Linked DNA regions of Homo sapiens: regions 1 and 3 are each linked to region 2. Evidence: promoter capture Hi-C in 16 types of primary human blood cells and fetal thymus (Javierre and others, 2016). All regions are on one chromosome and are shown on one strand. Each heading gives the region's core, a stretch centred on a gene start or on the middle of the fragment in contact. The rest is flanking DNA. Distances are from core to core; before and after follow the strand shown.

The links. Contacts are between HindIII fragments. The CHiCAGO score rates a contact against its expected background, and 5 or more counts as called.
Region 1: a contact is called between the fragment with the promoter of PARD6B here and the fragment with the promoter of CEBPB in region 2, in 11 of 17 cell types (total B cells, non-activated CD4 T cells, activated CD4 T cells and 8 more). The highest score is 21.9, in total B cells.
Region 3: a contact is called between a fragment that was not itself captured here and the fragment with the promoter of CEBPB in region 2, in 1 of 17 cell types (total B cells). The highest score is 5.7, in total B cells.

The regions. Positions count from the first base shown.
Region 1 is chr20:50,729,690-50,733,297 of GRCh38, forward strand. PARD6B (par-6 family cell polarity regulator beta) reads left to right here and starts at 1,891. Exons shown (of 3, transcript NM_032521.3): 1 at 1,891-2,163. The coding sequence starts at 2,098. RefSeq lists enhancers at 1-41, 994-1,043 and silencers at 1,234-1,443, 1,544-2,333. The HindIII fragment of the contact is 2,238 bases long and covers 1,076-3,313 here.
Region 2 is chr20:50,188,629-50,192,561 of GRCh38, forward strand. CEBPB (CCAAT enhancer binding protein beta) reads left to right here and starts at 2,202. Exons shown (of 1, transcript NM_005194.4): 1 at 2,202-3,933. The coding sequence starts at 2,406. The coding sequence ends at 3,443. It overlaps CEBPB-AS1 (CEBPB antisense RNA 1), which reads right to left and starts at 3,441. Exons shown (of 7, transcript NR_125739.1): 1 at 3,036-3,441; 2 at 2,640-2,794; 3 at 1,370-1,657; 4 at 828-933. RefSeq lists silencers at 1,735-2,144, 2,104-2,398, 2,225-2,434, 2,575-3,014, 3,435-3,544. The HindIII fragment of the contact is 16,423 bases long and covers 1-3,933 here.
Region 3 is chr20:50,749,262-50,753,249 of GRCh38, forward strand. It overlaps PARD6B (par-6 family cell polarity regulator beta), which reads left to right. Exons shown (of 3, transcript NM_032521.3): 3 at 398-3,988. The coding sequence ends at 1,227. Among named protein-coding and RNA genes, the nearest start is that of PARD6B, 20 kb to the left of the region's middle. The HindIII fragment of the contact is 1,111 bases long and covers 1,349-2,459 here.

The DNA.
Region 1 (3,608 bases), core at 641-3,140, 540 kb after region 2:
AAAAAGGTTGGGAACTGCTGTGCTAGTCCAAACAGGGGAGTTACAGGCCCTGACATGCACTTTATTTCCGGCTGAACTTGAGTCACCTCCTATGTGCTTTCAAACAGGGGGTGGAGGCAGCTTGCTTATTTATTATACAGCTTGGATTGGTGTCCTTTCCACCTGTGCTGCCACAGGTGGCCAGAAAAACCTTAAATCCTCCCACAAAACGTCTGGTTACCTGAATCCTCCAGAGGGAAAAAAATGAGCTTCTCGCCTTTGAACCCAAGTGGGGCAAAGAGCCTGCAGAAGGGACACCCTCAGTGGCAGCACCCAGCAAAGACCCATCTGAGTACCCGCTGGGAGTCGGGTTCTGTGCCACTCAATGCCAGCAAAGCACAAGCCGTCCCTGCGCCTTCGGGAGCTTTCATTCTAGGCTGGTGGCAGATTACTCACAAAACTCAGATGCACACAAAAATGGGAAACCTGTAACTTGTAACAAGTGCTGGGCAACAGGGGTACAAGTGTTAGGAGGCCTCCGAGGTGGGCAGGGAGATGAGGGGAGGAAGGTACCCTAACCACTCTTCTTGCCAAATCTCAGGTTGGACCTTCCCCTCCACCTCCATTCCCCTGCCCCCTTCCTGGCTTGCAGGTTTCAACAGCTCTTGGATTCCCGGGTCCCACAGGGAGACCTTGGGACCTGGGAATCTCCTCCAGCCAAAAGCTTCAGTCTTCTCCTCTCCTCCCCATGACCCACAGGGTCTGTGTGAAGAGAGGCCGGGCTCTGGGACGTTCAGAGAGGAGGATTCAGCGTTTTGTTGCTCTGGGACACAGCTTGGTCACTCCGGGAAACGAACACAACCTAGAGGCTGTCATTTGTAGAAACAGCGAATGGCCAAGGAATGGCGGGAGGAGGGAAAAGGAAGACTTTTAAAGAAAAAAAAAAAAAGCCCTGAAAGACTGGACTAGAAATCCTCAGGGAGGCTGGGCCTGCAAGGAGCCTTCCCGCGCCTCAGCCCACTTTCCTTCCCTCTCGACCTGACGGACTTAAGGCGTGCAGAGTCTCTTCGGACAAAATGAAGCCAAGAGAGCCCTAAGCTTCTCCCCCAGCAACCGCTGCAGAGGCGGGAAAACTTGAATTTTGCAACCAAGAGTTGCAGCGGGACGCCTAAGCAACGATAAGGGGCGGTGGAGGGGCGTCGTTGGGGGCTGCAGCATCCCAAAGTGGAAGCGGGAAGGGGGCCCGGCTGGAACCGAATAGCCCCGCAGCGCCTCGGCAACCGGACGGGCGGCGCATCCAATCCCCTGGACCGTGCGTGTGACTGGCGCGCGCTAAGCGGCGCGAGCCCCGGCGGAGCCGGGCAACCAGGCGCGCGCTCGCGCGTGCGCAAAAGGCCCACCCAGCCGAGCCCTTCTTCAGGTGCGCTCGCGCTTCCGGCCGGCCTCCCCGCGTGCCTTCCCGGGGCGGAAACTCCAGCACCCGCGCATGCGCCTTCTGGCTCTCCGGCCTGAAGCGGGGCGGAGGGCCATGGCTTCAGGTGATCCCGCCCCTCCCTCGTAGCGCAGGACCAATCGTGCGGTGGTAGGCGGGGTTTTGAGGAGGCAGCCCGCCCACGCACCGCGCGAGGCGTGTATCGATTGGTTGGCGCCGCGGGCGCAGGTGCGCGCTTTCTATTGGGTGTGGGCGGAACGCGAGGGATTGCGGCATCTTCGGGGGCTGCAGGTGAGCGCGCGCACGCGCCGCGGCTGTGGTCCGCTCGGGTGCGCGCGCGCGGGCTCGCGGGGGAGGCGGCAGAGGGAGAGGTTGCGGCGCTTGTGGCCTCCGCTCCGCCCCCTCCTCTCCTCCAGCGCTGTCGCCGTCGCCGCCGGGGCCCGGAGGGAGGGAGCTGCTTCCCCGCCTGCCGCGCCACCAGTCCGACCCTCGGTCCCGCCGTGTGAGCAGCTGGTGGAGTGGAGCTCAGCGCGGACGCCGGAGCTGCGGCCGCCCCCTCTGCAGGTGCCTGTGAGGAGGCGCCCGGGCCGCAACCGCTTTCCGAGATCCCCAGTCGCGCACTCGCTCCCCGCGCTCCTGAGGGGCCGCCCGGCCGGAGGAGGCCGTCGCGGGGCTCGGCGTTCAGCATGAACCGCAGCCACCGGCACGGGGCGGGCAGCGGCTGCCTGGGCACTATGGAGGTGAAGAGCAAGGTGCGCGGGGCCCGGGCTGGGCGGAGCGGCGGGCCTGGGGGGCCGGGGCCTGGGAGAGGCCGGGCCAGGCTCGGAGCGCCGGGGGAGGCGACGGGCTGAGCTGCCCCGGGGTCTGGACGGTGCGGTCGGGAGACTGTGGGTAATAAACTTGCCGAGGAGGGGGTGGCGGGGGTCAGGGGGCGCTAGTGTCCGCCCCTGGCCCGGGCAGGAAGAAGACCTAGTCCAGCATTTAATCTCATTCCGTAAATCTCATTCCCGTGTTCACGGACGGGAGTAGGGGCCAAGGTATATCCAAGGATGGCGCACACTGAGTGAAATGCGAGGCTGCTCAAAAGGTGTAGGAGAATCCTGCCTGCTGGGCTGTGAGTAAAGGGCCCTGGACCACCCCGTTGTTCCCACTTTCTGTGGTTAAGGGGCGCATCGAGTGGCGAAGGAGAGAGCCCAGTGAACTAAACAGCCCTTTAAAAGTTCGCTTTGCTTCCTGCTGGCGCTCTTTCTAGCACTAACTTTGGTATGCATTTAATCTGTAAAATTAGTACTATCACCTTACGTTGGAGTAGCACTTTACAGTTTGACTCTAGATGCTCTTTTCATTCCATCCTGCTACCTACTCACATCAAGTGCTTTTCCCCTTGACCAACGGTATGCCAATCTGCTGATAATTACTTCGGTATTCACTGAATTTCTAAATCTCAAGGCTCAGTGAGCAGGGTAGTCTGTAGGGAGGGATTAGTTAGGGAATGCCTTCCAAAGGGGGTTTTGAGCTGGAATTTGAAGGTGATCGGCAGCCAAGGGAACACTTTCAGCAAGCGTTTCTTGAGTTGAAGAGTTAAAAGGAGCTTAGATAATCTAGCCCAATTCTCTGAGAAGACTGAGGCTTAGAAAGGTTATGACTTCCTCAAGCTGTTTTTTTGCAAAGCCTTCATGCCTTTTTAATAACTTCTAGACATTGCAGAATACAAAACAGGACACTGGCTGGGCCCTGAGAACATTTAAAATAGAATTGAGAAGGCCAAAACACAGAAAAGGAGAAAATTGAAAGTATATCAATTTCAAAAAAAAAAAGTAATGGAGCATCATAGATGGTAAGACTACTAAGGAGTATGTAAAATCAAGGAGTGATTTGAGTGAGGTACAGTGGAGTAAGGAAAGCTTCCTAGAGCCTCTAGGTAGAATAGTTTTATTGTCTAGGGTTGATAAGCAAAGTTCTGTAAGTTTCTGTAACTGAGAATCACATCGAGAAAATCGACATTCGTTTGTAACATCATTAAAAAATGTGATTTGAGTCTGGGCGCGGTGGCTCACGCCTGTAACCCCAGCACTTTGGGAGGCCGAGGCGGGTGGATCACCTGAGGTCAGGAGTGCCAGACCAGCCTGGCCAACATGATGAAACCCCATCTCTACTAAAAATACAAAAAATTTTTAGCCGGCCGTGGTGGCACATG
Region 2 (3,933 bases), core at 952-3,451:
TGGCAGGCAAGATAATTCTGATTATAATGAGAATGGTGACGGAAATGAAGCAGGGGTGTGAGAGGAGTGACTGAGGGCCTAGACTTCCCATGGGAAGGTCAGGGAGGGTTTCCCGGAGGAGGCAGCTTTTGGGCTGAGACCTGAGGAGCTGCCTTGGGCAGAGGTGGGGTGACAGTGTTCTTGGTGCACAGGGAACAGCAAATGCATTCCTTCACTGGTAAATGTTGAGCGTGCTGTGCTCAGGAGTCCCTCGTGGGCCAGCCCTCCCCAAGTGGCAGCCTGCAGGGAGACTGAGGTAGACAGCTAGGATAATGGTGGCTGGCGATAGGGAAGGAAATTCACTAGCAGGTGGGACAGGGAGGGCCTCTCAGAAGCCGTGGCCTCTAGCTCAGCCCTGAGTGTCCCATTTTGCAGTGAGGAAGGGCTGGCCGGGTGGCCCTAGGGAAGCTGCCGCACCCCTCTGGGCCTTGATCCCTCCCCAACCCAGAGGCTGCTGGGAAGACCCAGAAAGCCAGCAGGCTGGGCCAGTGTTTTATCCCCTCCCTCCCTGCCTCCTACCCACCAAGGGTGCCCAGAGATGTCATTTCTCCAGCTCTTGGGGGCGGAGGTCACCCCAGCTCAGCAGATAACACCAAAGGTTGAGCAATGCCCGCCTGCCCGCTGGGGCCAGGGCTGGGGTCAGTGGGCTGGGGATCAGCCCCGGGCAGGCTGGGAGCTCCTGCCTAGGTGGCCTGGGCTAGGAGTGGCAGAGAGGTGGGCCCAGGGAGCTGCCCCAATGGCCTAGGAATGGGTCCGGGAGGGCAAAGGGCCCTCTAACCTGAGCCTACCCAGCAGAGGCGGGCAAGTGGTCAGAAGGCCTTGGGCCTGTGTTCAAGTCCAGGCGGGCCGTTGTCGCTTTCCCGTCTGTGAAATGGCAGCAGCAAAAGCATCTTCCTGGTGGGGTGAAAAAAGTTGAACCTCGGGGTGCAGGCCCACCGTAAGCACAGGGCAGGGACTTGGTAAAAACTTATCTTTCTCTTTCCTTCTCTTTCCTGCATACCACCCCCTCCCGTGAGGCCTCGCTTAAGTCCCTCCCTAGCAACTTCAGAAACAGAAGTTTTTGGCCTCTGGGACTGGCAATAGGTCTTAGGGCTCAGATGAGGGCATTTCATTTGGGATGAATGGGGGACATGCGGCCATGTGACCTTGGTATGCCACGCCATGCTCTCTCTGGGCCTCCACTGGCACAATCCGTGGGGGTCCCGTTCTCTCTGATGTGCAGCCCACAACGTAAGCCTTAGGTTTGGGAGTCTGGTGGGAACAATGCCACCACCACTGACAGTAGCGACACCCTTCATGGATTGCAGCTGGGAGAAGTGAAGTGACTCACCCAAGGTCACACAGTGTGGCAGGGCCGAGCACCCCCCGCCCCTGCCCCATCCCAGGGCCCAGGTCGGGTGGCGCAGCGCGGGGCAAGAGAAGACCCGGGCGTGTCCAAGCCTCGAGCAGGCGGCAGGTGTGGTGGGCGGGGCTAGGGGCGGGGCTCCGTGGACCAGGGTCCAGCCCCAAGCGGGGCGCGATCCTGCCCGGTCGCGCCGACCCCCGGGGTCCTCATATTGTCTGTGGCTTAAGAGGGGAGTCGTCACAGGCGTCAAGTCTTCTTTCTAAAGCCGGGGACCTGGGGAGGAGGTGGGAGTTTACGGGAGGAAGGGCCACGGAGATGGGTCGCTTCTCCTGGAGCTAGAGCTGCGGGCTGGGGTCTCCAGGGTTCGGCCCGGGGAGCCGACCCTGGTCGGCCGTCGGGGCTCTGCTCGGCCCTCCTGAAACCTCCGCCTCCTCCAGCAGGGGGCGGGCCGGGGCCGCGTCTCGGGGGGAAGGCGATCAGGTCGCCCCCTCCTCCGATTCCCCCGCCTTCCAGGACAGCCTCCAGCCCAGAGGGGCGGTCCGGGGGCGGGGTCGCACCGCCCCCTCTCGCTCCCAATCCCGGGGCGGCCGGGCGGGGGTGGGCAGGGGGCGTGAGGCCGCCCCTGCGTCCCGGGGGCCCCCCGAAAACGCGCTCCGGGTGCCCGGTCCCTCCGCTGCGCCCTGCCGCCGTCCTCCCGGGGGTCTCGGGCGGCCGCGGCCGTGTCCTTCGCGTCCCGGCGGCGCGGCGGGAGGGGCCGGCGTGACGCAGCGGTTGCTACGGGCCGCCCTTATAAATAACCGGGCTCAGGAGAAACTTTAGCGAGTCAGAGCCGCGCACGGGACTGGGAAGGGGACCCACCCGAGGGTCCAGCCACCAGCCCCCTCACTAATAGCGGCCACCCCGGCAGCGGCGGCAGCAGCAGCAGCGACGCAGCGGCGACAGCTCAGAGCAGGGAGGCCGCGCCACCTGCGGGCCGGCCGGAGCGGGCAGCCCCAGGCCCCCTCCCCGGGCACCCGCGTTCATGCAACGCCTGGTGGCCTGGGACCCAGCATGTCTCCCCCTGCCGCCGCCGCCGCCTGCCTTTAAATCCATGGAAGTGGCCAACTTCTACTACGAGGCGGACTGCTTGGCTGCTGCGTACGGCGGCAAGGCGGCCCCCGCGGCGCCCCCCGCGGCCAGACCCGGGCCGCGCCCCCCCGCCGGCGAGCTGGGCAGCATCGGCGACCACGAGCGCGCCATCGACTTCAGCCCGTACCTGGAGCCGCTGGGCGCGCCGCAGGCCCCGGCGCCCGCCACGGCCACGGACACCTTCGAGGCGGCTCCGCCCGCGCCCGCCCCCGCGCCCGCCTCCTCCGGGCAGCACCACGACTTCCTCTCCGACCTCTTCTCCGACGACTACGGGGGCAAGAACTGCAAGAAGCCGGCCGAGTACGGCTACGTGAGCCTGGGGCGCCTGGGGGCCGCCAAGGGCGCGCTGCACCCCGGCTGCTTCGCGCCCCTGCACCCACCGCCCCCGCCGCCGCCGCCGCCCGCCGAGCTCAAGGCGGAGCCGGGCTTCGAGCCCGCGGACTGCAAGCGGAAGGAGGAGGCCGGGGCGCCGGGCGGCGGCGCAGGCATGGCGGCGGGCTTCCCGTACGCGCTGCGCGCTTACCTCGGCTACCAGGCGGTGCCGAGCGGCAGCAGCGGGAGCCTCTCCACGTCCTCCTCGTCCAGCCCGCCCGGCACGCCGAGCCCCGCTGACGCCAAGGCGCCCCCGACCGCCTGCTACGCGGGGGCCGCGCCGGCGCCCTCGCAGGTCAAGAGCAAGGCCAAGAAGACCGTGGACAAGCACAGCGACGAGTACAAGATCCGGCGCGAGCGCAACAACATCGCCGTGCGCAAGAGCCGCGACAAGGCCAAGATGCGCAACCTGGAGACGCAGCACAAGGTCCTGGAGCTCACGGCCGAGAACGAGCGGCTGCAGAAGAAGGTGGAGCAGCTGTCGCGCGAGCTCAGCACCCTGCGGAACTTGTTCAAGCAGCTGCCCGAGCCCCTGCTCGCCTCCTCCGGCCACTGCTAGCGCGGCCCCCGCGCGCGTCCCCCTGCCGGCCGGGGCTGAGACTCCGGGGAGCGCCCGCGCCCGCGCCCTCGCCCCCGCCCCCGGCGGCGCCGGCAAAACTTTGGCACTGGGGCACTTGGCAGCGCGGGGAGCCCGTCGGTAATTTTAATATTTTATTATATATATATATCTATATTTTTGTCCAAACCAACCGCACATGCAGATGGGGCTCCCGCCCGTGGTGTTATTTAAAGAAGAAACGTCTATGTGTACAGATGAATGATAAACTCTCTGCTTCTCCCTCTGCCCCTCTCCAGGCGCCGGCGGGCGGGCCGGTTTCGAAGTTGATGCAATCGGTTTAAACATGGCTGAACGCGTGTGTACACGGGACTGACGCAACCCACGTGTAACTGTCAGCCGGGCCCTGAGTAATCGCTTAAAGATGTTCCTACGGGCTTGTTGCTGTTGATGTTTTGTTTTGTTTTGTTTTTTGGTCTTTTTTTGTATTATA
Region 3 (3,988 bases), core at 654-3,153, 560 kb after region 2:
GAACCCGGGAGGCGGAGGTTGCAGTGAGCCGAGGTCACGCCACTGCACTCCAGCCTGGTCGACAGAGCGAGACTCCATCTCAAAAAAAAAAAAAATATGTAAGATCTATCATAGTTTCATTTGCCATATTTAATGTTTAAAAGTGAATGAGCTCTATCAAATTTAACTTCAACATTGGTTTATTTTGTGATGTGTATTTGAGATGGCCACCTAGTGGTTTTTTCTGGTATGGCATTTTACTACTGTACTAGATTATGATCTGATTAGAATAAGCTTATTAGCTAGTTTGTTTATATACCAAATATATTTTGAGTTATCCTTTCTGTACAGATTCAGCTGCAAGTGAATAGATATTTTTACAGCATTTCTATAATTATTTTGTTTTATTTTTAAACAGAAGAAGCAGACTACAGTGCCTTTGGTACAGACACGCTAATAAAGAAGAAGAATGTTTTAACCAACGTATTGCGTCCTGACAACCATAGAAAAAAGCCACATATAGTCATTAGTATGCCCCAAGACTTTAGACCTGTGTCTTCTATTATAGACGTGGATATTCTCCCAGAAACGCATCGTAGGGTACGTCTTTACAAATACGGCACGGAGAAACCCCTAGGATTCTACATCCGGGATGGCTCCAGTGTCAGGGTAACACCACATGGCTTAGAAAAGGTTCCAGGGATCTTTATATCCAGGCTTGTCCCAGGAGGTCTGGCTCAAAGTACAGGACTATTAGCTGTTAATGATGAAGTTTTAGAAGTTAATGGCATAGAAGTTTCAGGGAAGAGCCTTGATCAAGTAACAGACATGATGATTGCAAATAGCCGTAACCTCATCATAACAGTGAGACCGGCAAACCAGAGGAATAATGTTGTGAGGAACAGTCGGACTTCTGGCAGTTCCGGTCAGTCTACTGATAACAGCCTTCTTGGCTACCCACAGCAGATTGAACCAAGCTTTGAGCCAGAGGATGAAGACAGCGAAGAAGATGACATTATCATTGAAGACAATGGAGTGCCACAGCAGATTCCAAAAGCTGTTCCTAATACTGAGAGCCTGGAGTCATTAACACAGATAGAGCTAAGCTTTGAGTCTGGACAGAATGGCTTTATTCCCTCTAATGAAGTGAGCTTAGCAGCCATAGCAAGCAGCTCAAACACGGAATTTGAAACACATGCTCCAGATCAAAAACTCTTAGAAGAAGATGGAACAATCATAACATTATGAAACCGTGGTTTGAATGTTTTCAGAGTGAGGATGCCATGAGGACTTGTACATTTGGCTAGTTTAAAAGCATATATACCTCTGACCAGTGACGTGGAATAGGCATGAGACGAGTAACGTTGCAAGCTTACAATATTATTAAAGTAGTAGTTTGATAATTGTTAATATAAACTTTGGTGGATCAGAGGTGAATTTAAGTCCAAAACAAAGGGGCCTTTGCTGATGAAGTTACGTGCTTTTGCTGTTTTGTCTGTGGAGAATCAGATGTTAAAGCACATTCTTGGAACTATGTGAGAAGACTAGATCATTTCTGTTGGAAGTGGTTGCATATTTAACCTGCTGTGCAGAGCCCAGTTAATTTTTCCTTTAACTGTATTTTTAAAATTCTAATGTGAAGTCTGATTCTCTCTTGTGGTACATTGGGGACCTCAGCTCTTAAAGGTCTCATGTTCCCAATATTTTATTTTGATTTTTTTTTTTTTTTTTTTTTTTTTTTTTTTTAGTGACTGGGTCTCACTCTGTTGCCCACACTGGAATGCAGTGGCATGATCACAGCTCTCTGCAGCCTCAATCCCCTGGGCTCAAGCAGTCCTCCCACCTCAGCCTCCTGAGTAGCTGGGACCATAGGCACATACCACCACATCTGTCTACTTTTTGTATTTTTTGTAGAGACAGGGTTTCGCCATGTTGCCCAAGTTGGTCTTGAACTCCTGGGCTTAAGCAGTCCTGCCTCGGCTTCCCAAAATGCTAGGATTAGAGCCACCATGCCCAGCCTATTTTGATTTTTGTTTTTTTATGTTCCTTTCTAATAAATTGTAACAAATGATGTTCTCAAGTACATTTCCAGTTTCTTTTCTTTTCTTTCTTTTTTTTTTTTTTTTTTTTTTTGAGATGGAGTCTCGCTCTATCGCCCAGGCTGGAGTGCAGTGGCGCGATCTTGGCTCACTGCAAGCTCTACCTCCTGGGTTCACACCATTCTCCTGCCTCAGCCTCCCAAGTAGCTGGGACTACAGGCGCCTGCCACCATGCCTGGCTAATTTTTAGTAGAGACGGGGTTTCGCAGTGTTAGCCAGGAAGGTCTCAATCTCCTGACCTCCTGATCCGCCCGCCTCGGCCTCCCAAAGTGCTGGGATTACAGGCGTGAGCCACCGCGCCCAGTTGTGCATTTCTGGTTTCTAAGAATCAAACCACTTGGCTGTTTTTAGGAGTTACTTCCCATGTTATAAAGCTGAGGAAGCTTTTTTTTTTTTTTTTTGAGACAGAGTCTCTGTCACCCAGGCTGGAGTGCAGTGGTGCAATCTCAGCTCCCGGGTTCAAGCAATTCTCCTGCCTCAGCCTTCTGAGTAGCTAAGATTACAGGTGTGCGCCAACACGTCTGGCTTATTTTTTTGTATTTTTAGTAGAGATGGAGTTTCACCATGTTGGTCAGGTGGGTCTCAAACTCCTGACCTCAAGTGATCCGCCCATCTCCTCCCAAAGTGCTGGATTGCAGGCATGAGCGCCTAGCCAGGAAGCTATCTTTTCTTGAGTTATGAAACTTTGCAACAGTTGTTCAAATTGGTGTTTGTCCTTCCTATAGCTTTCATATTTTCAAATTAATTCTGTATGGCTATATAATTTATGTTTTAAAAGGCAATTCTCTTGACTTTGGAAATATGGAAGTCTCTCCTTTAACCTATTCTTGTTCCCATTCCCAGTCTCATTTGAAATCATTCCTTTTATTGTTAGTGTGTGTATTTTTGTTGGTGTGCTTTTAATGCATCCAAGTATGCATCATTTTGGATAAAAAATACATCCAAATTAAGATGTTTTAACACATAGGACAAACTTGTGCACTTTTTATGCCAAAAAAAAAAAAAATTGGGTTTTCCTTCATGGGATTTCTAGAAACACTGCCTACACTTTATGAAAACTACATAGTATTCACCTGTGACAGGTAGAGTTTATCACTATTAATTTTATGAGGCTATTTATTACTTTCCAATGCATCCACTTAGAACAAGCTAAGAGTAAGGCTGCTAACTTTAATTCCTTGCCTGATTTTATTGTACAGTGTGCACAAGCACAATGGTATGCTTGTATATAGAAACTAAAAATACTATGAAGTACATAAGTTCCCTATGGCTTATGGAGAGTTATTTATTAATTAACTTTATGGTAGGGCTAGTATGAATACCTTTTTAACAATTGTGTGCTATTACAACAATGAAGATTCAAATGACTCCGCTTTGAAGGATGTTTTCTCTATATGGTAAAATATATATGAAGAAGTCTTGATTACGTGAAGATCACTTGACTCAGAATACTTCAATGTATTTTGTTCACATTACCACTAAGCATATTATCAGTAAACTATTAACTGACTGCACATTATGTAATACGTTGTACTTTTTGTTGAATTCACCGAAGTTCTTCCATTTATATGCTATTTTTAATGGCATTCCGGCTTTAACATTCTGTGAGTCTTACAAATTTGACTCTTGAATGGCAAAATAATGTTAGTATGTAGAAGGTTAACTTTCATTTATAATATAAGTGGTGCAGGGGTTCAACATTTTAAGTAAAAATATTTTTACACACTACCTCTCTCTTTTTTTTTTTAAAGTTTTAACATCAGAACTTTTGGGGGAAAAACTACTTCAGGGCTTGACTTTTTGTACAAATTTTAACTGTAAAATACAGATTTATCTTGTACGCATTCATGGAAATGGAAATCAAAGCTGCTATTGCTTTTTATTTTAATTATCCTGTTAAGGGTATCTAT